7 separate regions of the Homo sapiens genome follow, and all the other regions are linked to region 5. Evidence: promoter capture Hi-C in 16 types of primary human blood cells and fetal thymus (Javierre and others, 2016). All regions are on one chromosome and are shown on one strand. Each heading gives the region's core, a stretch centred on a gene start or on the middle of the fragment in contact. The rest is flanking DNA. Distances are from core to core; before and after follow the strand shown. Region 1 overlaps SLC12A6 (solute carrier family 12 member 6). Region 2 overlaps DPH6 (diphthamine biosynthesis 6). Region 3 has its middle 3.6 kb from the start of EMC4. Region 4 overlaps NUTM1 (NUT midline carcinoma family member 1). Region 5 holds the start of AQR (aquarius intron-binding spliceosomal factor). Region 6 overlaps SLC12A6 (solute carrier family 12 member 6). Region 7 overlaps SLC12A6 (solute carrier family 12 member 6).

Evidence for each region. The method cuts DNA at HindIII sites, captures the fragments that hold promoters and counts their contacts. A CHiCAGO score of 5 or more calls a contact.
Region 1: a fragment that was not itself captured here is called in contact with the fragment with the promoter of AQR in region 5 in 9 of 17 cell types (total B cells, total CD8 T cells, naive CD4 T cells and 6 more); the score reaches 9.1 in total B cells.
Region 2: a fragment that was not itself captured here is called in contact with the fragment with the promoter of AQR in region 5 in 7 of 17 cell types (naive CD8 T cells, total CD8 T cells, total B cells and 4 more); the score reaches 8.7 in naive CD8 T cells.
Region 3: a contact is called between a fragment that was not itself captured here and the fragment with the promoter of AQR in region 5, in 12 of 17 cell types (total CD8 T cells, non-activated CD4 T cells, total B cells and 9 more). The highest score is 15.8, in total CD8 T cells.
Region 4: a fragment that was not itself captured here is called in contact with the fragment with the promoter of AQR in region 5 in 1 of 17 cell types (naive B cells); the score reaches 6.2 in naive B cells.
Region 6: a contact is called between a fragment that was not itself captured here and the fragment with the promoter of AQR in region 5, in 1 of 17 cell types (non-activated CD4 T cells). The highest score is 5.8, in non-activated CD4 T cells.
Region 7: a fragment that was not itself captured here is called in contact with the fragment with the promoter of AQR in region 5 in 7 of 17 cell types (total CD4 T cells, total CD8 T cells, naive CD8 T cells and 4 more); the score reaches 7.6 in total CD4 T cells.

Annotation. Positions count from the first base shown.
Region 1 is chr15:34,237,489-34,240,516 of GRCh38, reverse strand. SLC12A6 (solute carrier family 12 member 6) reads left to right here. Exons shown (of 26, transcript NM_001365088.1): 20 at 1,357-1,552; 21 at 2,116-2,285; 22 at 2,967-3,028. Among named protein-coding and RNA genes, the nearest start is that of EMC4, 14 kb to the right of the region's middle. RefSeq lists an enhancer at 512-1,711. The HindIII fragment of the contact is 3,743 bases long and covers 1-3,028 here.
Region 2 is chr15:35,541,609-35,544,872 of GRCh38, reverse strand. DPH6 (diphthamine biosynthesis 6) reads left to right here. Exons shown (of 9, transcript NM_080650.4): 2 at 2,366-2,460. Among named protein-coding and RNA genes, the nearest start is that of DPH6, 2.9 kb to the left of the region's middle. The HindIII fragment of the contact is 1,882 bases long and covers 818-2,699 here.
Region 3 is chr15:34,219,740-34,223,043 of GRCh38, reverse strand. No RefSeq gene overlaps it. Among named protein-coding and RNA genes, the nearest start is that of EMC4, 3.6 kb to the left of the region's middle. The HindIII fragment of the contact is 1,993 bases long and covers 449-2,441 here.
Region 4 is chr15:34,352,905-34,355,922 of GRCh38, reverse strand. It overlaps NUTM1 (NUT midline carcinoma family member 1), which reads right to left. Exons shown (of 8, transcript NM_001284292.2): 5 at 2,051-2,187; 6 at 1,191-1,477; 7 at 786-902; 8 at 1-435. Among named protein-coding and RNA genes, the nearest start is that of NUTM1, 11 kb to the right of the region's middle. RefSeq lists an enhancer at 953-2,152. The HindIII fragment of the contact is 1,664 bases long and covers 752-2,415 here.
Region 5 is chr15:34,968,398-34,971,765 of GRCh38, reverse strand. AQR (aquarius intron-binding spliceosomal factor) reads left to right here and starts at 2,024. Exons shown (of 35, transcript NM_014691.3): 1 at 2,024-2,227. The coding sequence starts at 2,153. RefSeq lists enhancers at 1,921-2,030, 2,081-2,230. The HindIII fragment of the contact is 5,969 bases long and covers 1-3,049 here.
Region 6 is chr15:34,255,763-34,258,983 of GRCh38, reverse strand. SLC12A6 (solute carrier family 12 member 6) reads left to right here. Exons shown (of 26, transcript NM_001365088.1): 5 at 40-171; 6 at 1,196-1,342; 7 at 2,701-2,755. Among named protein-coding and RNA genes, the nearest start is that of EMC4, 32 kb to the right of the region's middle. RefSeq lists a silencer at 1,270-1,470. The HindIII fragment of the contact is 4,736 bases long and covers 1-3,221 here.
Region 7 is chr15:34,330,461-34,333,592 of GRCh38, reverse strand. The region is part of intron 2 of SLC12A6 (solute carrier family 12 member 6); the gene reads left to right. Among named protein-coding and RNA genes, the nearest start is that of SLC12A6, 5.8 kb to the left of the region's middle. The HindIII fragment of the contact is 5,371 bases long and covers 1-3,132 here.

The sequences.
Region 1 (3,028 bases), core at 464-2,963, 730 kb after region 5:
TTCCCAAATAATAAGATGAGCCAAAAATAGTTATTTATTATTTCTTCCTGTTTAAAGCATTACTAAATTATAAGATTATTAAGTCTAAACCTTATGTTCAAATATACTCCAAACATTAATCTAAGCACTGAGAAAAGTCATGTAAATAAATTGATCCCTTGAACTATGGAGAGGGTTCCTCTCAATCTTGTGACAACAAGGAGTAATGACCAAATTTTCTTCCTCTTTACTAATCTACGTGGTATCATGAGCAAGATTCCTTTGCCACTTCTGGTTAGCTGTATTGAACATTAAAGTTCTACTTTAACAAGGAAGTTGTTTTCACTCTAATACTTATTATATATGATAGAACTAATCCTATTGTTTTTGAAATGCCATTGTGTTCAATGGCATTTCAAAAGTTTTACTGTGGGGGGAGGGGGGAAGGATAGCATTAGGAGATATACCTAATGTAAATGACGAGTTAATGGGTGCAGCACACCAACATGGCACATGTATACATATGTAACAAACCTGCACGTTGTGCACATGTACCCTAAAACTTAAAGTATTTAAAAAAAAAAGTTTTACTGGATTTCATTTTGGAATCCTTTGAAATCCTAAACACTAGAAATGCTGAAGAAACATTACTCCAGAATGATGGTAAAAATTAATAAAAGGTACACAGGATTGAAAATCAGGAGAGCCTAGTTCTTAGCCGCATCACTGATTTAATCTGTGCCTTTGCAAAAATCATTCCATTTTCCATACCATTATTCCCAGGGTGGAGTAAGAGTAAATGAGATGATATCTCCAAATTGGTTTGACTAAATAAAGGAAGAGTAATGCAAATACAAGTGTCATGAATAATCACCATTAAAATGTCAAAAAGCATATGGGAATGGGAGAGGCGAAAAAGAAAACATACCTGAGAAAATTCTAAAGTGAAACTGAATCATCATACTGAGTTTCTGGTAAGATGAGTCAGGGCATGACTGGGGCTGAGGCAGGAAGGAGATCGTGTTCACAATAGTGAATCACCCTGGTCAACTGAGAAAGAATGTTGAATATTCACTTTGTAGAGATCCCTGTTCCCAGTTTTTTGGTATGGTGCAAAGGAACAAAAGCAGAACAGAGGAAAAAGCAGAGAAACTACATGTAGACAACCAGCTACAGAGGCAAAAATACGTAGTAAGCAAAAAGACAAAAGATCATGAAATTCCTTTGGGATAATTTTAACTTTTTGGACTTTTCTGTAGATGATATAGTATTATGAAGACTTTGGAAAAAGGTGGGGGATATAATATGGAGAAGGAACAATGGGTTAAAATGTCCAGAGTGAACCAGTTCAGTGTTGCGGTCCTGTGTCTCTTTCAGACCATAAAGCACCTAATGGAGGCAGAGAAGGTAAAAGGATTCTGCCAGCTGGTGGTGGCCGCCAAGCTGAGAGAGGGCATTTCCCACCTCATCCAGTCATGTGGCCTTGGGGGCATGAAGCACAACACGGTGGTGATGGGCTGGCCTAATGGCTGGCGTCAAAGCGAAGATGCCCGCGCTTGGAAGACTTTTATTGGTACTAACCATTTCTCATACAAACCTAAAGGCCCAAGTCGAGGGTATATAGTTAAATCTCTGTCACCCCCAGCCTCCTAAAGTAGAGACTATGCCATTGCTGAAGCATAGTCTTATAAGGCAACCTGAAAAACTATTGGTAGTAATACCCAGATTCTACCTACCCCCTTCAGCTTCACATTATGTTCATGAATTATTTCTGTCAAGTCTTGTGCTAGGAATTATCTCCAAAATTGCCGTGTTTTCATTTGTGATTTTCCATATTGATGTTCTCACAGGAATTGCAAGAATTGTTCTTCAGCATCATAATCTCTCAAATTCACATATCCCCCCTTAGAAATGTAGTAATGGGAATATACCTAGTAACATAAACTGTGGTTCTCAGTCTGTTAGCTATTCAGATTTTTCACAATGGTTTTTGATACGTAATGAGAAATAACCTACTAAGTAAATAGGACCCCTTGCTCAAAGAAGTGTGAAAAGAGCATTTCCTTGCTTTCCTGACATGCTAGGAAGCAAGGCAAGCCTAAGGATTCTTCTCTGCTTATTCTTTTTTCTCCCTAGGCACAGTTCGAGTGACAACTGCTGCCCATCTTGCACTGCTGGTGGCTAAAAACATCTCCTTCTTTCCCAGCAATGTGGAGCAATTTTCTGAGGGCAACATTGATGTGTGGTGGATTGTGCATGATGGGGGGATGCTTATGCTACTACCATTCCTACTGAAACAGCACAAGGTATTTTATACAACTTTTTTTTTACAAAAGTCTTTCTCCCTTCTGTCCTGGTTCACAGGACAGACAAATTCTTCCTCTGATTATAATAGTGTTGGGGTTTAGAATCAGAAGAGTTGGAAGTTATTCTAGGCTTTCCCATGATCCCACTTTCAAACAAGAGAAATCATTGTCTTTGTATTTGATACCTACTTATCTCCAAGTGAAATTCAGCCAATTAATAAAGTTCCATATGAGCCCTAGGGGAAAACAACAAGTGAACACATCTTTTTTTAAAAAATACTGAAAACTTAAGGTATATGTATATGTGTGTATTGCACGCATATATGCGCTCATTCCGTGGTAAGACTAATTAAATGAGATTTAAAATAGTAAATATATAGTCTGCATGTTGTCATTGATACACTGTCTGAATAAAGTACCCTCTTAACGTATCGTGAACCATCTTTTCTTTTGCCAGTGTTTTCTTGTTATGAAATTAAGGACTCCTTAAAACTGTATTAAATGTGGTGTTTAGTCAATCTTTTGCCCTAATACAATAACATAGCAAGTAGGAAGCTAGGAACAAATAGCCTTATACTACATATAGCAAGGTTCTTCTAGACCACAATGTCTAATGTCTTAGGAAATAACCTTTTTTGCCTCCTTGCTCTAATTTTTCACATGTGTATGTCACTCTCTCAGGTGTGGCGAAAGTGCAGCATACGGATCTTCACAGTAGCCCAATTAGAAGACAACAGTATCCA
Region 2 (3,264 bases), core at 509-3,008, 570 kb before region 5:
ATCGCTTGCCAAAAGTTTAACGATTAAAGTAAAGCACAACAAACAAAGACTTAGAAGTATTGGAGGGGAGGAGAGAAGATTGGTAGAGTCAGTTACACTAAATAACCTGTAATGTGCATATGTTGCTTTATAATAAAAAAAGTTTGCTAAAAAAGCAATGTTGGAAAATTCTTGCTGAAGCGTAAGAGCTGTAAGGACATATGCTGTAAGTATGAATACGTAAGCATTTACCTGTATGCTTATGATACAGATGCCTATGTATTCTATATATATGCATTATATATAATTATGTATTATAAGTGAATAAGTGAAACTGGGATTCTTACATATCTTTCTAAGAAGATTATTTTCCTTTTTTAAATTTTTTTTTTATTATACTTTAAGTTCTGGGTTACATGTGCAGAACGTGCAGTTTTTTTACATAGGTATACATGTGCCACGGTGGTTTGCTGCACCCATCAACCCATCACCTACATTAGGTATTTCTCCTAATGTTATCCCTCCCCTAACCCCCAAACCCCCACAGGCCCCAGTGTGTGATGTGCCCCTCCCTGTGTCCATATGCTCTCATAGAACATTATTTTTCTAATAAATAAATGAGTCTTTGAATTTTATAGTTGAATGTTATTTTGAGGATTATCCAGGCAGACCATTCATTAATTTGCAATGAAGTATGCAAACCTAAGCACATTGAATAACTTAGCTTAGTATCCCAGAGTTGGAAACTAAAATAGAGCTGTGAGACCTCTCACCTAACATACATGTGTACTTAATGGAGTTCTAAGAGGACAGTAAGGTACTCTGCATTTCCCAAGCTTGTCTGATATTCAAAACCTTTTGTTAGAGTAATTGGTTAGTATTTTGTTGGACACCAGTGTTCCACAGAACACAGTTTGGTAAATACTGCTTAAAACCATATTTGAAATGTTGGCATATTTCAAAATAAATTGTCAGACTCAGTTCTGATTCTGGATGCACACCCTTCAGTCTTTAATATCTGAAACAATTAGTCATATCTTTTTATCCTGGGGAATCAGAGCAGTAAGGTTCGATATGGGAAGTTGTGGAAGACCTACTTATGGGGATACCGAACCTGAAGAGAGGAAGAATGGACTTTTTAAAACTTCACTTTGGCCCTTGTGCTCTCCTTCCACTTGAGAAGTTTTGGAATGAGAGTTGTTATTGATGGGAGGGTGGAAGAGGCAGAAATGTTGAAAACTAAGATAAAAGGCAACAAGGCCAGTTTCTGAGGTGCTCAGTTTCTTGAGCTATGAAGAGGTCTAAACATTGCCTGGGGATTTGCAGGCCTTAAGCAAATATTGGAAAGAAGGGAAACAGGAGGAAAAAGAAATGTAAAAGGGAGAGAGGCAATGATAAATGATAGTGGGAATTAGGAGAATATTAAATTACAATAGCATATAGATTGCCATTCAGCCATATTATAGATGAGCTACTGCTTGTCTTTACTAAGTGATATGCGTCTGCCTTAGGTAGATTTAGAACCAGAATTTAGAAGTTCCTTTCAATGTGTTACTACATTTATAGCTCAAGCCTAGTTCTGCTGCCATCATATATATATATATATATATATATATATATATATATATATATATTATGTGTATGTGTGTACTATATGTATGTGTAGAGATGGCTGAAGTGCTGATAGTGCTGATGTTTCACGTCATCAGTGTAAGTCAGCATCTTGTTTTTTATCTCTGCAGAATTTGAACCCACCAAGTGTGTCAAACTTTGTCATTAGCTAGGTACTCAAATCTTTAATTTGATCCTTTAATTGCTGATGGTAGCCATTTGTTAGATTTCTTATGGTGGAGCAGAATTTGTTTTTTTTTTTACTTTCTCATAGAGAATAGTTTTTTTTTTCCCAATAATTTCTATGAAATTATTTTATATATATATATATATATATTCCTTAAGTGGAATAATATATATTATATATATTCCTTAAGTGGAATAATATATATTATTATATATATTCCTTAGGTAGAATATATATATTTCATATATAATTATATAATAAATGTTTAGCTGGGATGTAAATTGAAATCATTTTCTATTTGCAAATCACTTCAAATATATTTGCTATCACAAAGCAAAAAGTTACCATATTTTGTTTAGAATATTCTTATATATATATAGTTTCTTAAGCTCCTGTGAGTAGCAGCCCTAGACATTCAGATTCGGTTGCTCAGTTTGTTTATGATTTAGAAATTAATGGGTTTTTTTTGCATTGTAATATATTCTGAAGAGTCAAGTAAATGATATGTTCTGTTTTGATATCTAGTGATTTTATGTTGAATAATGGTCAGTAGCATGATATTTGTCCCTCTCTTGATTTATTGTTTAGTGGTGGGAAGGACAGCTGCTATAATATGATGCAGTGCATTGCTGCTGGGCATCAGATCGTTGCTTTAGCAAATCTAAGACCAGCTGAAAACCAAGGTAAGTACATGCCTTTATTGGGAAGTTGCCTAAATGAATGAAATTCCAACTTCATAATTACATTGTACAGGTATACCGTACAAAGATGAAAAAAAAAGAACCAATAAATATTAAGCACCCATTAGATGCTAGTTTCCACCTAGAACTTAGCATTAAGTGTTTTCACTTACTTTTTAATTCTCATAACCAACTTCTATAGAGATGCACTATTAATCTTAATAGACAGGGATCCTGAAGCTTAGAGTTTGTCTGAAGTAAACTAGCACAAACTTGTAGAGTTAAGACTTGAACCTTCTTACTTCAAAGTACACTACCATTTTACCCCACCACATTCCCAAGTACTGTAGGCAGCATAGAGGTAGATAAGATACAGTCTCAGGCCTCAAGGAGCTTGAGAAGTAAGACACATATTGATAAATGATATATTAATTTTATTATTAAAAGGATACAGTTTACCTATTTTAGATGTAAGCCAGAAATGTGAGACTTGAGAGAAGCATAAAGCAATGCATTCCCACTTTTCATTTGTCTGTAGTAACAAGGGCATCCACATATAATTCACAGACCTCATATTGACTACTTTTTTCATTCTTTTCTCCAATGAAATATCCCCAATTATAGCTTTTGAAAAAAGAAATATATTCACCAATTTGCTTTTTAATGCTATTGTGTTATACCTATGAAACTACAGATATTAACTGCTAAAATGTAAGAGGGAAAAAAGATTAGCACTTTTGTGACTTTTGTATTACTGCTTCTCACAGGACTTTTCTAGTAAGATCTTTTTATTCTCTCTTTTACTTC
Region 3 (3,304 bases), core at 196-2,695, 750 kb after region 5:
TGTCCACTAGGAAAAATGGCACCATTTACATTTCACAGTCTATAATTTTTTTAATAGTTTGAAATGGTACTGTATTATTTTTTAATTTGTATTTCTTTGACTCCAAGTTATTCGATATGGCTGGAGTTAGGGGGAAGGAGATGCTGTGGGAGGTAAGGTTGAAAAAGGCTTCCTTGGCCAACAAAAAAGTTGGGACTCTTGAAGATGATGATGATGTAAGAGAGGCTGAAGATTGCCACCTCCACTTTATTTTCTGATTTTAAAAATATGTGTTCATAGCAGACTACTTAAACAAGGCAGAAATGGAAGTCTTTTGCCTCTCCAATCCATCCTAAAATGTGTATCTATCTGATTGTAGGAAGACCTAACTATAGATTGTGTTTCTGCTCCTTTCTACTTTTTGTCTTTACCACGTTCTGTCTCATGAACCTTATATTTATCTCAAGCTTCTGACCCTATTGGGCATTCTTCTTTGTTGCATTATATGCTGCATAATAGCACTTACCACATTGCATTTTGTTTGTTAAAGTCCCCTGAGCACTTATTTCTACCCCTCTATAGGCAACCCTAAATCCCCCCAGGTCAGAAGCTATATATTATCTTTGAGCCTGTTGCCTAGAACATAGAAAGTACTGAATAAATGTTTAGCGAATGTGAGTAAATTAAATTGAAAGTAAACAAACACCAAGATGTGAATGTACTATAACTACACTTGTGCAAAATAAAACATAAAAATGGATATACATTCTATTGGGGCAATAATTTTCACGCAATTTTGTCTAATTTTCAAGATAATCTTATTACACTTTTCTTTTTTTTTTTTGAGACAGAGTCTCACTCTGTCACCGAGGCTGAAGTGCAGTGGCACGATCTTGGCTCACTGCATCCTCTGCCTCCCAGGTTCAAGCAATTTTCCTGTCTCAGCCTCCTGAGTAGCTGGGATTACAGGTGCCCGCCACCACGCCCTGTTCATTTTTGTATTTTTAGTAGAAATGGGGTTTCACTGTGTTGGCCAGGCTAGTCTCAAACTCCTGACCTCAGGTGATCCACCCACCTCGCCCACGCAAAGTGATGATTACAGGCATAAGCCACTACACCTGGCCTTCTTATTACATTTTAATACTTTTTTTTTTTTTTTTTTTTTTGAGATGGAGTCTTGCTCTGTTGCCAGGCTGGAGTGCAATGGCGCAATCTCGGCTCACTGCAACCTCCGCCTCCCAGGTTCAAGCAATTCTTCTGCCTCAGCCTCCCAAGTAGCTGAGACTACAGATGTGTGCCACTACGCCTGGCTAATTTTTGTATTTTCAGTGGAGACAGGGTGTCACCACATTGGCCAGGCTGATCTCGAACTCCTGACCTCGTGATCTGCCTGCCTCAGCCTCCCAAAGTGCTGGGATTACAGACGTGAGCCACTGCTCCTAGCCACATTTTAATAATTTTTTTTTACTTACTATTTTTTTGAGACAGGGTCTCACTGTGTTGCCCAGGCTTGTCTCAAACTCCTGAGCTTAAGCAGTCCTCCCGCCTTGGCCTCCCAAAGTGCTGGGATTACAGGCATGAGCCCACACCTGGCCCTGCTTTAATAAGTTTTAAATGAACACTTTTGAAAACATTAAGTTAGTCATTGGAATCATATATTCTTTCTACTTAAATACTCCCCTACTTGCTATAAAAATGTGTAAACTATAACCTAAATTAAAGTTGCTTTGGGCTGGGTGCTGTGGCTCACGCCTGTAATCCCAGCACTTTGGGAGGCCAAGGCAGGTGGATCACGAGGTCAGGAGTTCAAGACCAGCCTGGCCAAGATGGTGAAACCCCGTCCCTACTAAAAGTACAAAAAATTAGCTGGGCGTGATGGCAGTCATCTATAATCCCAGCTACTCAGGAGGCTGAGGCAGAGAATTTCTTGAACACAGGAGGTGGAGGTTGCAGTGAGCCAAGATTGTGCCACTGTACTCCAGCCTGGGGGACAGAGCAAGGCTCTGTCGCAAAAAAAATAAATAAACAAAAAATAAAAAGTTGCTTTGGCCTCAGTGGGAGTACTCTGGATCATTTATTTCTTTATCCTAGGAATCCTCATAGTATTATTTGTGAAACTCCGTTCCAAAAAATGAACACATCAGGACTAGGCTGAGGATGGTTCCAAGATTAGATAAATTTGAGAAATTCTACATATTATATTCTGCACACACACTCAAGAGAGTCTTAGTGCCGTTAGTATAACATATGAAAACAACAAGAAATGGTTTGGTAAAGAATCTCCTTTAATTTTGTTTCCCAATCTACTTGAGTAAGGAACCAGTTTTTTGTTGTTTTTTTTTCCTTAATACATTCGTTAACATCCAATAGAATCAGTGTTCCACAGAATACAGTGAGGGCAGCTGCTCTATATGCATGCTAGAATTCTTCAGGAGAAAGATGAAGGTCTCCCCTATAAAGCTTTGCTTGTTATTTTTAAAATATTAGAAGATCATTAGAAATAATAGGTTATTTATGGAAATGGAGCTTCAAGTTGGAATTAAAGTTTTAAAGTTTTTGCACAAATTTTGTTTCGCAAGGAAAAGAAAACTAGTGTAAGATTTTCCAGGCCTGGTGTGGTGGTTCACCCTTGTAATCCTTGTGCTTTGGAAGGCTAAGGTGGGCAGATCGCTTGAGGCCAGGAGTTTGAGACCAGCCTGGGCAATATGGTGAAACCCTGTCTCTACAAAAAATAAAAAATCAGGCTGGCAAAGTGGCTTGTGTCTATAGTCCCAGCTACTTGGGAGGCTTAGGTGGGAGGATCACTGGAGCCCAGGAGGTCAAGGCTGCAGTGAGCCTAGATCGTGCCACTGCACTCTAGCCTGAGAAACCTGGATTTTAATCCTGACTCCAAATGAACTACATGATTCACTTTGAATTAGGGACTCTCTTGACTTTAATTTCTTCATCTATAAAATAAGAGATTTATACTAGATGATTTCTAAGGGTGCCTTCTAGTTCTGAAATATATCATACTCGTTTTAAAAAAAAAACATATAAAGTGTACTATTCTTTCCATGCATATACACCCGAAAAAAAACACTCAGTAATAGACACTCAAAGGAGTAATGGGATTTCAGATAATTTTTTAAAATCGTGCCTTCCTACAGTTTTCCTAGGTCTCTGCATTGTGCAGGTACTACTTTTTAGTTAGAAAAACATAAATATTATTAATTATAACATGACATAATTCCAAACAGAAATGTAATGGTTCTCTGTTATGAATACACATGAGAATCAACTTGAGAGCTCTTAAAAATATTGATGCTTGCCGGGCACGGTGGCT
Region 4 (3,018 bases), core at 334-2,833, 620 kb after region 5:
GCAGTGCCCAGGAGGCCCAGCGCCTCCTAGATGGCCATCCTGATGTAGAGATACCTGGTTTATAACCTTCCCAGACCCTCTCCTCTCCACACCCAAGGGTCCCGGAGTTCCCTGTGGAGCTGCAAGTTCTGGCTGCAGGTCCCAGCTGCTGGGGGATGGCAGAGTGTTCCCATCCCTGTGCATCCCTCTGGGGCTATCTAGGGCTTGCTCCTGCCCACCATGCACTTCTCTTGCCCGTTTTCCTGAAGAAGAAACCTTTCCAAGGCAAGCGGCGCCCCCAGCCCCCTGAAGCCCAGGTGAGGGCCGAAGCCGCCCATCCCCATCTTCATCCTCAACAGAACCAGAAGGACTTGAGTCCAACTGAGCGCCACTGAAACTTGGAGGCGCCTCTGCATCTTCCTCCTCTTCCAAGGCCATGAGTCGCTTCTGGACCAGCTGAAAGAAATGAACAAATAGTCAGTTCTATACGTGGTTGTGAAAGAGGTGGCTGAGTGGGTGGCACAAGACGGTATTTGGGCAGGGCAAGGAAGGCAAGCAAGTAGTTTAAGCGATGGTAGCAAAGACAGATACTGCAGCTCTTTCCCACCTTCTTGTGCCTTATTCCCATGCTTTGAGCCCTTACATTCTCATTTCCTGTGTTTCCATAGCCCTCTACCTACTCGTTCTGCACCTGAAGCCCAATCCTGAAGCTGTTCATCTCTAGAGCCATATCACCCACGACAGTGTAGGGTTAGATAAAATCTTGCAAGCTTCTCGTTCTCATATTTCCTATACCCCAGTTTTACCTGGGCAAGAGTGAGTCCTTCTTCTTGCTCTAGCTCCTCAATTAAGGCCAAGGGATCTCTCTGTTTTTCTGGGGACAGCAGATCTGCCAGAAATTGAGGGTGAATGACAGCCTCCACCTGGATAACAGAAGGAAAAGCGATGTAAGTCTGTAAGCAGGTAACCTGTGAAACAAGGGGCTTTACAGAAGAAACTAAGAGCTCCCCAACTCTCCCCTCTTACCCCTCCGGTATTGTAAACTGACCACCACCGGCTACACACATTCTCATGATGATGCATGCACACACATTACTCAGTTATAGAATAAAACCTAAGTCCTACTGCATTGGACAAACCCCAGATCATTAGTTCCCGGGAGTACCCACCCCAAGGATCTGCTAGAAACAAGATGTGCAGGCCCAGCTCACCTTGGAGACAAAGACCTTCTGAGAACACAGCTCATTGATGTAGCTCAGGAGACCTGGATCTGGATACATCCCTTCCTCCTCCTGCTGCTGCCCTTCTTCCTCTTGTTTTCCATCTGACTCCCCAGTGGCCAAGTGAGTCCCCACCAGCCATTCCATGATGTCAACATACTCCTTCACAGCTTCTGGTGGGATCTCCTTGGGTGCCTCAGGAGCAGGAGGTCTCTGGGCTTTACGCTGACGCCGGCGGGGGGCCCGTGTCTTGGAGGCTGCCTTCTTCGGAATGTACACTAAGGGAAGAGATGGACAGGAGAATGGGAAGTAGCACAGAAACCACAGATTCTGCCTCCTTCGGAATGTACACTAAGGTAAGAGATGGACAGGAGAATGGGAAGTAGCACAGAAACCACAGCTTCTGCCTCCCAGCTCTGTAAGCTCAGCAATCTGGGTACATTGAAATGGTTCCAGGCTGGATTGGGCCAACCTGAAAAAGCGCCAGCCATGGGAGATTTAGGACCTAGAGGGTCTAAGAATCACTGTATGAGGAATTTTGGAATCCCTGAGATTCCAAGAAACCCCCTAATCCAGTCCCCATTTCTTAGGCAGATGAGGTATTATGTGCTGAATTTAGAGTCTCGGTGAGAGTAGTCAGTTTACTTCACCAAGATCAATACCTAGTTCAGGGCAAAAGGAACCTGAGAACCCAGCCTCCTATGGGGTGGTCTGTTTGGAATATCAAATGCCACTCTCCAGAGGGAAAGTGGCAGAGCCTGGGCTATGCCTTCTCTAATCTGTGACTGGCTTCTGTATGCATCCCTTTGAGCCTTTGGCCCACGGCTCCTGTCAAAATTGGGTAGCCTCACCTGGCTGCTGGCAAACCTCAGAGGCCAGGGGCCCTAGAGGATCAAGTTTCAAAGGGGTTGCAGGAGACAGGCCCTGAGACCCATTCATCAGCTGTGTGTTCTGAATCTGCATCTCCTCAGCCTCAAACTCCATGAACCTGCAGAGGGTGAGAAAGGCATAGGCAATGCTGAGAAGGAGACCAGACCCATCAGAAATCCAGACGACAGCCAAGCATGGCCAAGAAAGGAAGTGCTCTCAGGTGGGCAAAGTCTGCCTAAGTCATGTCACCCAGGAGGGTGGTCACAGGTGGCTTAATCGTATTTCCAGGGAAACTTCAGGAGCTCAGCACATAGTTCCTTCCCCTATAGTCATAACTTAGGAAGCTTAAGAAAATGAATGGCCAGGTGGGGTGGCTCATGCCTATAAACCCAACACTTTGGGAGGCTGAGGTGGGCAGATTGCTTGAGCCCAAGAGTTTGAGACCAACCTGGGTAACACGGCAAAAACCCATCTCTACAAAAGATACCAAAAAAATTAGCCAAGAGTGATGACGCGCGTCTAGTCACAGCTATTGTGGGGCTGAGGTGGGAGGATCGCTTGAGCTCAAGAGGTGAAGGCTGCAGTGAGCCATGACAGTGCCACTGCACTCCAGCCTGGGCAACAGAGTGAGATCCTGCCTCAAGAAAATTTTTAAAAAGTAAAGAATGAGGCCAGGCGCAGTGGCTCACGCCTGTAACCCCAGCACTTTGGGAGGCTGAGGCGGGCGGATCATGAGGTCAGGAGTTCGAGACCAGCCTGGCCAACATAGTGAAACCCCGTCTCTACTAAAAATGCACAAAATTAGCCTGATGTGGTGGTGGGTGCCTGTAATCCCAGCTACTCGGGAGGCTTAGGCAGGAGAATCACTTGAACCCAGGAGGCAGAGGTTGCAGTGAGCCGAGATCGTGCCATTGCACTCCAGCCCAGGCAACAGTGTGAGACTTTGTCT
Region 5 (3,368 bases), core at 775-3,274:
TATGACACACCTTTACCTATGTAACAAACCTGCCCATCCTGCACATGTGCCCTTGAACTTAAAAATTTAAAAAAAATTGTCCATATTAAGTGTTGACGAGGTGGAGAACAAACTAGAATTATATGCTCCTGATGTGAATGTAAAATAGTACTACTTTAGAAAGATGGCAGTTTCTAAAAACTTAAACATATACTTGCCGGGTGCAGTGGCTTATGCCTGTAATCCCAGCACTTTGGGAGGTCAAAGTGGGCAGATCACGAGCTTAGGAGTTCAAGACCAGCCTGACCAACATGGTGAAACCCCGTCTCTACTAAAAATACAAAAACTAGTCAGGTGTGATGGCGCGTTGCCTGTAATCCCAGCTACTCAGGAGCCTGAGGCAGGAGAATCTCTTGATCCCAGGAGGCAGAGGTTGCAGTGATCCGAGATCACGCCATTGCACTCCAGCCCGGGCGACAGAGCAAGACTCCATCTCAAACAAACAACAAACAAACAAACACACCTATCGTATAACCCAAATATTTCACTCCTAAGTATTTAAGAGCAAAGGAAGTATATGTCCACATGAAGACTTATACACAAATGCTCATAGTGGCTTTATTTGTAATAACTGAGAACTTGGAACAACTCAAATGTCTATCAGCAGATGAATAGTTTATCAAACTGTGGTATATCAGTAAAATGGAACGAATGTTAAGCAATAAAAAAGGAATGAACTACTGATACATGCAACAACATGAATCCATCTCAAAATCATTTCGTTGAGTGAAAGAAGGCATGCACTGTATTATTTCATTTATATAAAATTCCATGAAAAGCAAACTATAGTGACAGAAAGCAGATCAGTGGTTGCCTGAAAAGTGGGTGGGAACAGTGAAAGGCACAGATAGCAAAAGTTCACGAGGAAACTTTTAGAGGCTTTGATATGCTCATTATGATTTTGGCAATAGTTTCACAAATGTATGTTCATGTCAAAACGCATCAAATTTTACAACCTAAATATGTGTGGGTTATTGTATGTGAATTATTTTTATTATTATTTTATTTTTATTTTTTGAGGCTAGTCTCGCTCTGTCACCAAGCTGGAGTGCAATGGCGCAATCTCGGCTCACTGCAACCTCCGCCTCCCAGCTTCAAGTGATTATTCTCCTGAATCCGAGTAGCTGGAACTACAGGCGCGCGCCACCACGCCCGGCTAAATTTTGTTTTTTAGTAGAGATGGGTTTTCACCATGTTAGCCAGGCTGGTCTCAAACTCCTGACCTCAGGCAATCGGCCAGCTTCAGCCTCCCAAAACGCTGGGATTACAGGCGTGACTACCGCGCCTGGCTGGGTTATTGTATGTCAATTTTTACCTCCATAAAACTGTTAAGGCCTGTAATCCCTGCACTTTGGGACCCTGAGGCAGGCGGATTACCTAAAGTTGGTGAGTTCGAGACCAGCCTGACCAATACGGAGAAACCCTGTGTCTACTAAAAATACAAAAATTAGCTGTGCATGGTGGCGCATGCCTGTAATCCCAACAACACGGGAGGCTGAGGCAGGAGAATCGCTTGAACCCGGGAGGCAGAGGTTGCTGTGAGCCGAGATTGCACCATTGCATTGCAGCCTGGGCAACAAGAGCGAAACTCCGTCTCAAAAAAAACAAAACTAAACTAAAACACTGTTAAGGGCAGTTAAAACCCAGCCCATATTCCCAGGCTGTTTTTTTTGTTTTGTTTTGTTTTTTCTTTAGGGTTGAAAAAAAACTAAATCCCCATTCACCGCACACGGCACTCTTCACTAACCACGAGAAACCCCACCCAACACCATCCACCGGGTCCCTCCCTTGCCCTCCTAATCCCGCCAGCGAGGTGTCTTCTCTCTGCCGCCCGCTAGAGGGCGTGTACAGAGGAGGTCAAAGCTCTTGGCTCGCTAGCTCAGCCCCAACGCCTGCATGAACTTCCGGCTACACGCCATTCCGCTTCCCGAGGAACGCTTGGGCTGTTGTACGGGTTCCCTACGGGACTCTGAAGGCTGAGGATATCCGGCCCGGAGCGTTTGTGCGGCGCGGAGTTAAGCGCCCCGGCAGTAACTTAAGGGAAGTGGACCAGGGTTGCCGCTGCCCAGAGCGGTCCTTTAGTTTCCACTGGAGTGGAGGGAAGAGTGCTGCCATGGCAGCCCCTGCGCAGCCCAAGAAGATCGTGGCCCCTACGGTGTCCCAAATCAATGCGGAGTTCGTGACCCAGGTGAGCTCGGGCGAGTCTGGTGTGTGTGAGTGGGTATGGACGTCGTGGCCCCGAGGCCTGGTGGTGGGGTTTTTTTTCAGGATTTAGGAGTCCGGAGGAGGCATTCGTTTGTTAATTGATTCACACACGTCTTTTTACTGAGTATCAGCTCCGTGCCGGCCACTATGCTAGGTGCTGGGCATACCGTGGTGAAAGAAGCTGCCCTGCCCTGGGGAGTTCATGGCCCAAGGAAGACAGACGCATGAAAATAAAACTACTGTATGAGTTTTGCTGTGTTGGAGTTTGTCTCAGGAGCAATGGATTCAGAGAGGAGGGAACACCCCAGTCTATCTGAGACTGGCAAGTAGGCTTCGCAGCAGAGTGATGCTGGACTGCCTCTTCAAGTAGGAGTAGGCTTTTTCCTGGTCCTTAGAGTGTCCTGAGTTTTTGAGCAGCGATGAGAAACTGACAAGACACCTCCAAATAGACCTATCTAAAAACAGAGTAATTCTGTAGTTTGAGAGCGTTCATTTAGAATCTGTTTACTATCTTGCATTGTGAGCCACAGTTGGCTTTGGATAGGGAACCACAGTCCTGTGGTTGTCAGCATCATTCCTCATTCTTATTATTTATTTGTGAATTGCATAAGAGTGTAAGTAGTTCAATGTAGAAGTTATCATGCCCACCTGCTTCTTTATTCTTTATTCCTTGTCTCAACAGATTTGCCAGGGCAGAAGCCTAGGGAGTGATTTTGAATCCTCCCTTTCCCTTAGTCCCTACATTTCTACATTCTAAATATCTTTTGAATCTATCTGGTGTTCTACATCTCTGTCACCCTAAGCTTGGTTGCCATTGTTTTCTGCCTGGACCAAGGTATCGTAATCTGTTATATTGTCCTTCCTCTTGCTCTGCTCTAGCCCATTCTTCATGTTGCTTTCCGAGTGATTTCATACAAGTGCAAATCTCATCATATCACTTGCCTTCTTAAAATTTCTGCCTTCCGGCCGGGCGCAGGGGCTCACGCCTGTAATCCCAGCACTTTGGGAGGCCGAGGCGGGCGGATCACGAGGTCAGGAGATCGAGACCATCCTGGCTAACACGGTGAAACCCCGTCTCTACTAAAAATAAAAAGAAAAAAAATTAGCCGGGCATGGTGGCAGGT
Region 6 (3,221 bases), core at 179-2,678, 710 kb after region 5:
TCTTTGTAGCTCATTTCTTCCATGTCACTGGCTTTATAGGAAGAAATGGACACCAGACCGAAGGTGTCTTCCCTCCTCAACCGCATGGCCAATTACACTAATCTGACTCAAGGAGCAAAGGAACATGAAGAGGCAGAAAACATCACTGAAGGGAAAAAGAAGCCCACCAAGGTGAGGCCTCAGAATAACAAGGAATACATAGAAAGAGCCCTGTATATAAGAAAGAAGGAAATACCTAAGGCACCATTCTGTGTTCAGCAGCTATTTATTAAATGCTTGAGAGGTGCCTGGAACTGTTCTGGGCACCAGCGTCATAGCACAAAGAAAACATATGATGCAGTCTAAATTCTGATGTGGGGATACAGTCCTTAAGCTGTTTTAACTGCCAAAGTATATAACATATTAAGTGTTGATAAATTCCCGAGCAAAAAATTAAGCAGAGTAGAGAGACTGAAATTGGCAAGGGATCCAGAGTGGAGGGCGTTGCTACTTACATAGGTTGGACAGGGAAAGCCTTTCTGACAAGGTGATATTTGAGGAGAGATCTAGCTGATGGGAGGGAGTGAGCTATGTGGGAAAAGAGCATTCAGGGAGAGGGAATAGCTTTTCAAGAGAAGAGTGTCCATACCCATCTGCTGATGCCATCTGTCTGTTGTGAAGTTGTTGGGTTTTTTAAACACCAAACATCAGTTTGTCTCAAAATGAAAATATAAGACATTCAGTTTACCATTCTGGTTGTTCAGCCCTTTCAAAAAGGGATAAAACGGCCCTCAGATCTTCATTTTGCCATCTAATTTATTTACTAACTACTGTGAAGAATTTATGCCAAATTCTGAAGAAATTCCATCAAGTCCTTATTGTTTTTAAATGAAAAAAGCCAACAGCTTTGAAAAACAAAATTTTAAATTGTTGTGGGTGCACATAAAAGTTTATTTGTGGCCAAATGCCTATGTATAATAAACACATGCAGGAACCTTTGTAAAGTTAAAATATATAGCTTTAGGAATAATAAAAGTATGGTGATAAACACTTGAAAGATGGAGATTTTATATGTGCCCTTTTGAAGGTATTGATTAAACTTATGATTTCTGCTTGGAGGTTAATATGGTAGTTAGGGAGCAAGTTATTACATAAAAGAATAAAAACCTCTCTTTAGGATAACTGTGTGATTTTTTATCAATGTCTTTCTTTCTAGACCCCCCAAATGGGTACCTTCATGGGTGTCTACCTCCCATGTCTACAAAATATTTTTGGAGTGATCCTTTTTTTACGCCTTACATGGGTGGTGGGCACAGCTGGAGTTCTTCAGGCTTTTGCAATTGTCCTTATCTGCTGCTGCTGTGTAAGTACTGCACTGGCTCCTAGAGATCACCTGAACGTTGCAAGTTCTCAAGAGCAGATGCACATGACCTCTTTGGGAATAAAACAAAGAATACTTAGGGAAGGACTCATGATCTCAACAGAAGAAATTATTCTGATATTAAAATCTAAAGGATTTTCAGTTATTCAGTGCCTGTTAGTCACTGCTTGCTATCTATTATATGATGTACTAGAAATTACAAAGCAAGACTTCAACTGAAAATGGAAGATAAAGTTCCTGTCTTCAGAGAATTCAGAATCCAAACTATTTGAGCTTGATAGCACCAAAGTTGTGACAGAAAATGTGTTAGAAAATGTGATGTATCACTCCAGTATATATTGAGAAACAAGACAGGTTATTGCGGATGTGAGGGGTATTTGGTTTTTTTATTTGGTTTTGAAGTTTCTTCCCTTATCCCTTCCTTAGAAATTTAGATGTTCTTTCCAGGTCTTCTCTCTACTGAGAACATTTTTATCTTCCTTTAATTTAAACTTCTCATTATGTATCCCAGACACACCTATGAATTTTATAGTTTTCTACTGTCCTTTTTTATCACTATGACCTTTATACCCTACCTGTATATTATCCCCAGCTGATGAGCAAAACAGGTTAAGCAGGCACAGTTCATATTTTTAATAACTTAAAATGTTCATGGTACCACCTTTTTTTAGTCTCAGGCTTAAAACCTCAAGGCTGTGTTTGGCTTCTTAATTGCTTTTCACATCTAATCAGCTACCAACGCTAATCTATTCTCTGAAATCTTTTACACTCAGCCCTTTTTATTCACACTACCACCACTATAGTTTTTACCTCTCACTGAACTACTATGGTAGCCTGCTAACCAATCACTCGGCCTCCAGCTACTCCTATCTGCAGCGCATTCTATACTGTGCTACCGGGTAATATTTTTAAAATGCGGTTCCTGTGTGCTCAGAAGCCTTCAGTGATTCCCTTTCTTACTGAACATTGTTCTTGATATTGTATTTAGTCTTTAGTCAGGTTCTAACCTATTTTCTGAGTTATTTCTCTAGTTCTTCCTTTTGAGTATACTATGCTCTATTTCCTGTGTAACTAGGAAATCCAGAGTGAGATTAGCAGTTCTTAATAGCACCTGACCTACTGATGTGGGAGCATTTTGACAGAATCCTCCAGATATTAGTGGTATGACTAGCGCAATGAATTGGACCATATCATCTTATTTCCATACCATTAGGTATGACTGTCCATAAAAGTAGGTAGAGTTAAATGTTTGCCAAGTGCTCTTGGAACACAAATGGAGAAGTAGTATAGAAATGTCATCTTTACACAGTAACAATCCTCTCCTTTCCTTTTCTCTGCAGACAATGTTGACTGCTATCTCCATGAGTGCCATTGCCACTAATGGAGTGGTGCCAGGTTAGTAGGTCAAGGTTGTATTTCAGGATTTATCAGTGTTGACTCTGTGTTTATGCTATAAAGCTAGAGGTGCAAACTTCTGAAGAATAGAATACTATTTGGTCTGTTCTGTGCTACAACAGAGTAATGGTCTATAGGACGTAGACATAATACTACTTGACTTTAAGATGCCGTCTTTAAAATCTCTTTATTTTTTAAACTAGAATGCATTAATTTCAGTCACATTCTTAGCTTTTATTAGTTGGAATATATATTTTTTTATAGACAGAGTCTCACTCTGTCACCCAGGCTGGAGTGCAGTGACACGATCATAGCTCACACAGCCTCCAACTCCTAGGCTCAAGCTGCTTTCCCACTTCAGCCTCCTGAGTAGCTGGAACTAGAGGTGTACACCACTATGCCTGGCTATTTTTTTTTTTTTACAGAGGTGACATTTTACTATGTTACCCAGTTTGGTCTCAAACTC
Region 7 (3,132 bases), core at 305-2,804, 640 kb after region 5:
AGATACAAAAGAAACTGTTGAGAGTGGATGCCTCTGGAAAGTGAGTTACAAAAATAGAGTGGAGCCAGGCACGGTGGCTCACGCCTGTAATCCTAGCACTTTGGGAGGCCGAGGCGGGTGGATTCCCTGAGCTCAGGAGTCCGAGACCAGCCTGGGGAACACGGTGAAACCCTGTCTCTACTAAAAATACAAAAAATTAGCCAGGCGTGACGGCGTGCGCCTGTAATCCCAGCTGCTCGGGAGGCCTTGACAGGAGAATTGCTTGAATCCAGGAGGCGGAGGTTGCAGTGAGCTGAGATCACGCCGCTGCACTCCAGCCTGGGTGACAGAGCGAGACTCTGTCTCAAAAAAAAAAAAAAAGAAAAAGAAAAAAAAATAGAGTGGAATTTTCTTTTACCAAAACAATTAAGGGCATATACAACTTTTAAGTATTTATAGTGTATCACTTTTATAGTAATTTTTTTGAAAAGCACCACATGTTAGAGCTAATGATCTAGAATCTTATTCTGATCAAACCACATTTTAATAAGTGAGGAGACTTAAAACCCCAATAGATTAGACTAAAAAAATAACAAAATAAATGAGGAAACTAAGGCTTATAGAGATGGTTATTTGTAGATCACAAAGTGGCAAAGCCAAGACTGAAGTTCAGGCCTCCTGACTTTTATCTAGTGCTCTTTCTTGCATCATTTTGCCTCTGCTATGATGAACATTTTTTACATGTGCTTTATAACCATGTGGCTATAAAACATATTTTTATATGTCATTTGCAGGACCTAATACTTTTTTTCTTTTTCTTTTTTTTTTTTTGAGGCAAAGTCTCGCGCTGTCGCCCAGGCTGGAGTGCAGTGGCGCTATCTCGGCTCACTGCAACCTCCACCTCCCTGGTCCAAGTGATTCTCCAGCCTCAGCCTCCCAAGTAGCTGGGATTACAGGCATCTGCAACCACACCCGGCTAAATTTTGTGTTTTAGGAGAGATGGGGTTTCACCATGTTGGCCAGGCTGGTCTCAAACTCCTGACCTCAAATGATCCTCCTGCCTCGGCCTCCTAAAGCTCAGGGATTACAGGTGTGAACCATACACCCTGCCTGCAGTCCCTAATACATTTCAACCTTTTATAAGTCAACAGATACTCCCTGAGACGCTGGTATGTATGAGGCAGTCTGGTATTAATTGTAGGAAATATACAGGTAACATATAGTTTCTACCTTTGCAGATCTCATGGTATAATGGTGAAAATGACTAGAGCACTTTACTTATTCCTTCACCAAATATTTGTTACTCTGAGCAATGAGTTAAGGATAAGGCACTGGCTGGCTGTTAAAGATGTTGGGTGTTAAAGACAGAGAAAAAGCATCCGTTAATCTGTTCTAAGGAAAGTTATGATCTAATAGACAAAGCAAACACATTTGTATATAAATTATAATGCTGTATAAGTCCAACAATAGAAATATGCAAAAATACGGCAAAGGAAAATGATCAACTAAGATAAAATAGAGACACTTAAGAGACTGGAGGACTTGATAAGGTAAAGTGTGGTGAAAAGTGTAGAAAGATTAAAGACTGTGGTCAGACGGTTGAATGTTGTTGGAGTGAGCAATTTCAGAGGTAGAGCATTTCTCATGTAATGTGATCTAGTGTGTAGCCTTGGAGTGGGTTTCTGAAGTGGAGAGTTGAGGTCTAAGTGTAACAACTTTGAGACTGGCTGTTAACCAAGTTTTTGTGAGAGATGTTAGAGACATAAAAGTAATTTAGATAAGTCCTTTCTTTAAGGAGTCATGTCCTCTCTGAAACCTTTTCTGATTGAACCCCATATCCAGATATAATAAACCAGGCTCTTTTTGTCCCTATATTGCTATAATACCTATATCACTATATTTTGTTTTTATTTACATATTATCTTTCTCAACTATGCTGTAGGGTTCTTGAGGACAAGGATACAAAATCATTTACACCTAGTGTAATATGTGATATCACATATAACTTGTACACCATAAATATACATTGAGTTGAAGATCTTGTAGACTTAAAAACAAGAGACAAATTAAAAACGTACTCTGATAAAGGCATATTAATGTATGTACGAGAGTAGTGCTACTTCATCTGGCTGCATAATGAATGATCTAGAGAGCTTTTCAAAAAATGCCTCTAGGCTGGGCGCGGTGGCTCACGCCTGTAATCTCAGCACTTTGGGAGGCCAAGGCGGGCGGATCACTTGAGGCCAGGCGTTCGAGACCAGCCTGGCCAACATGGTGAAACCCCGTCTCTACTAAAAATATGAAAACTTAGCCAGGTGTTGCGGTGCATGCTTATAATCTCAGCTACTCAGGTGGCTGAGGCATGAGAACCTGGGAGGCGGAAGTTGCACTGCAGCCTGGATGACAGAGCGAGACTCTGTCTCAAATAAATAAATACCTCTACCCTGACAAACAAAACCTAACAAAAAACAAAATTATCATTTTTAGTCACACACCAAAATAAGTGAATTATATTGTTTTGCTAATCATAGGTGACTATTACTTATTATTATTATTGTTATTATTATTTTTTGAGACAGAGTCTCACTCTGTCGCCCAGGCTGGAGTGCAATGGTGCGGTCTCCACTCATTGCAACCTCCGCCTCCTGGGTTCAAGTGATTCTTCTGCCTCAGCCTCCCCAGTAGCTGGGACTACAGGCACGTGCCACTACACCCAGCTAATTTTTGTATTTTTAGTGGAGATAGGGTTTCACTATGTTGGCCAGGATGGACTATTACCTTTCTCTTAAATAAGTCTTCTATATTATATAATTATTGAATACTATCCATGTTTTACCTCAGCATTCTAATAGCTAAAATATGTTGATTTGGTACCTTCTTAGCTTGTCTGAAAGAAGCATCCTCTTGATAGTTTTGTTTTTTTTGTTTTTGTTTTTGTTTTTTTTTTGAGACAGGGTCTCATTCTGTCAACCAGGCTGGATACAGTGGTGTGATCACGGCTCACTGCAGCCTCAACTTTCTGAGCTCAAGCAGTCCTCCACCTCAGCCTCTTGAGTAGATGGGAACACAGGTGCACACCACTATGACCAGCTAATTTTTTTTTTGTAGAGACAAGGTTTTACCATGTTGCCCAGGCTGGTCTCGAACTCCTGC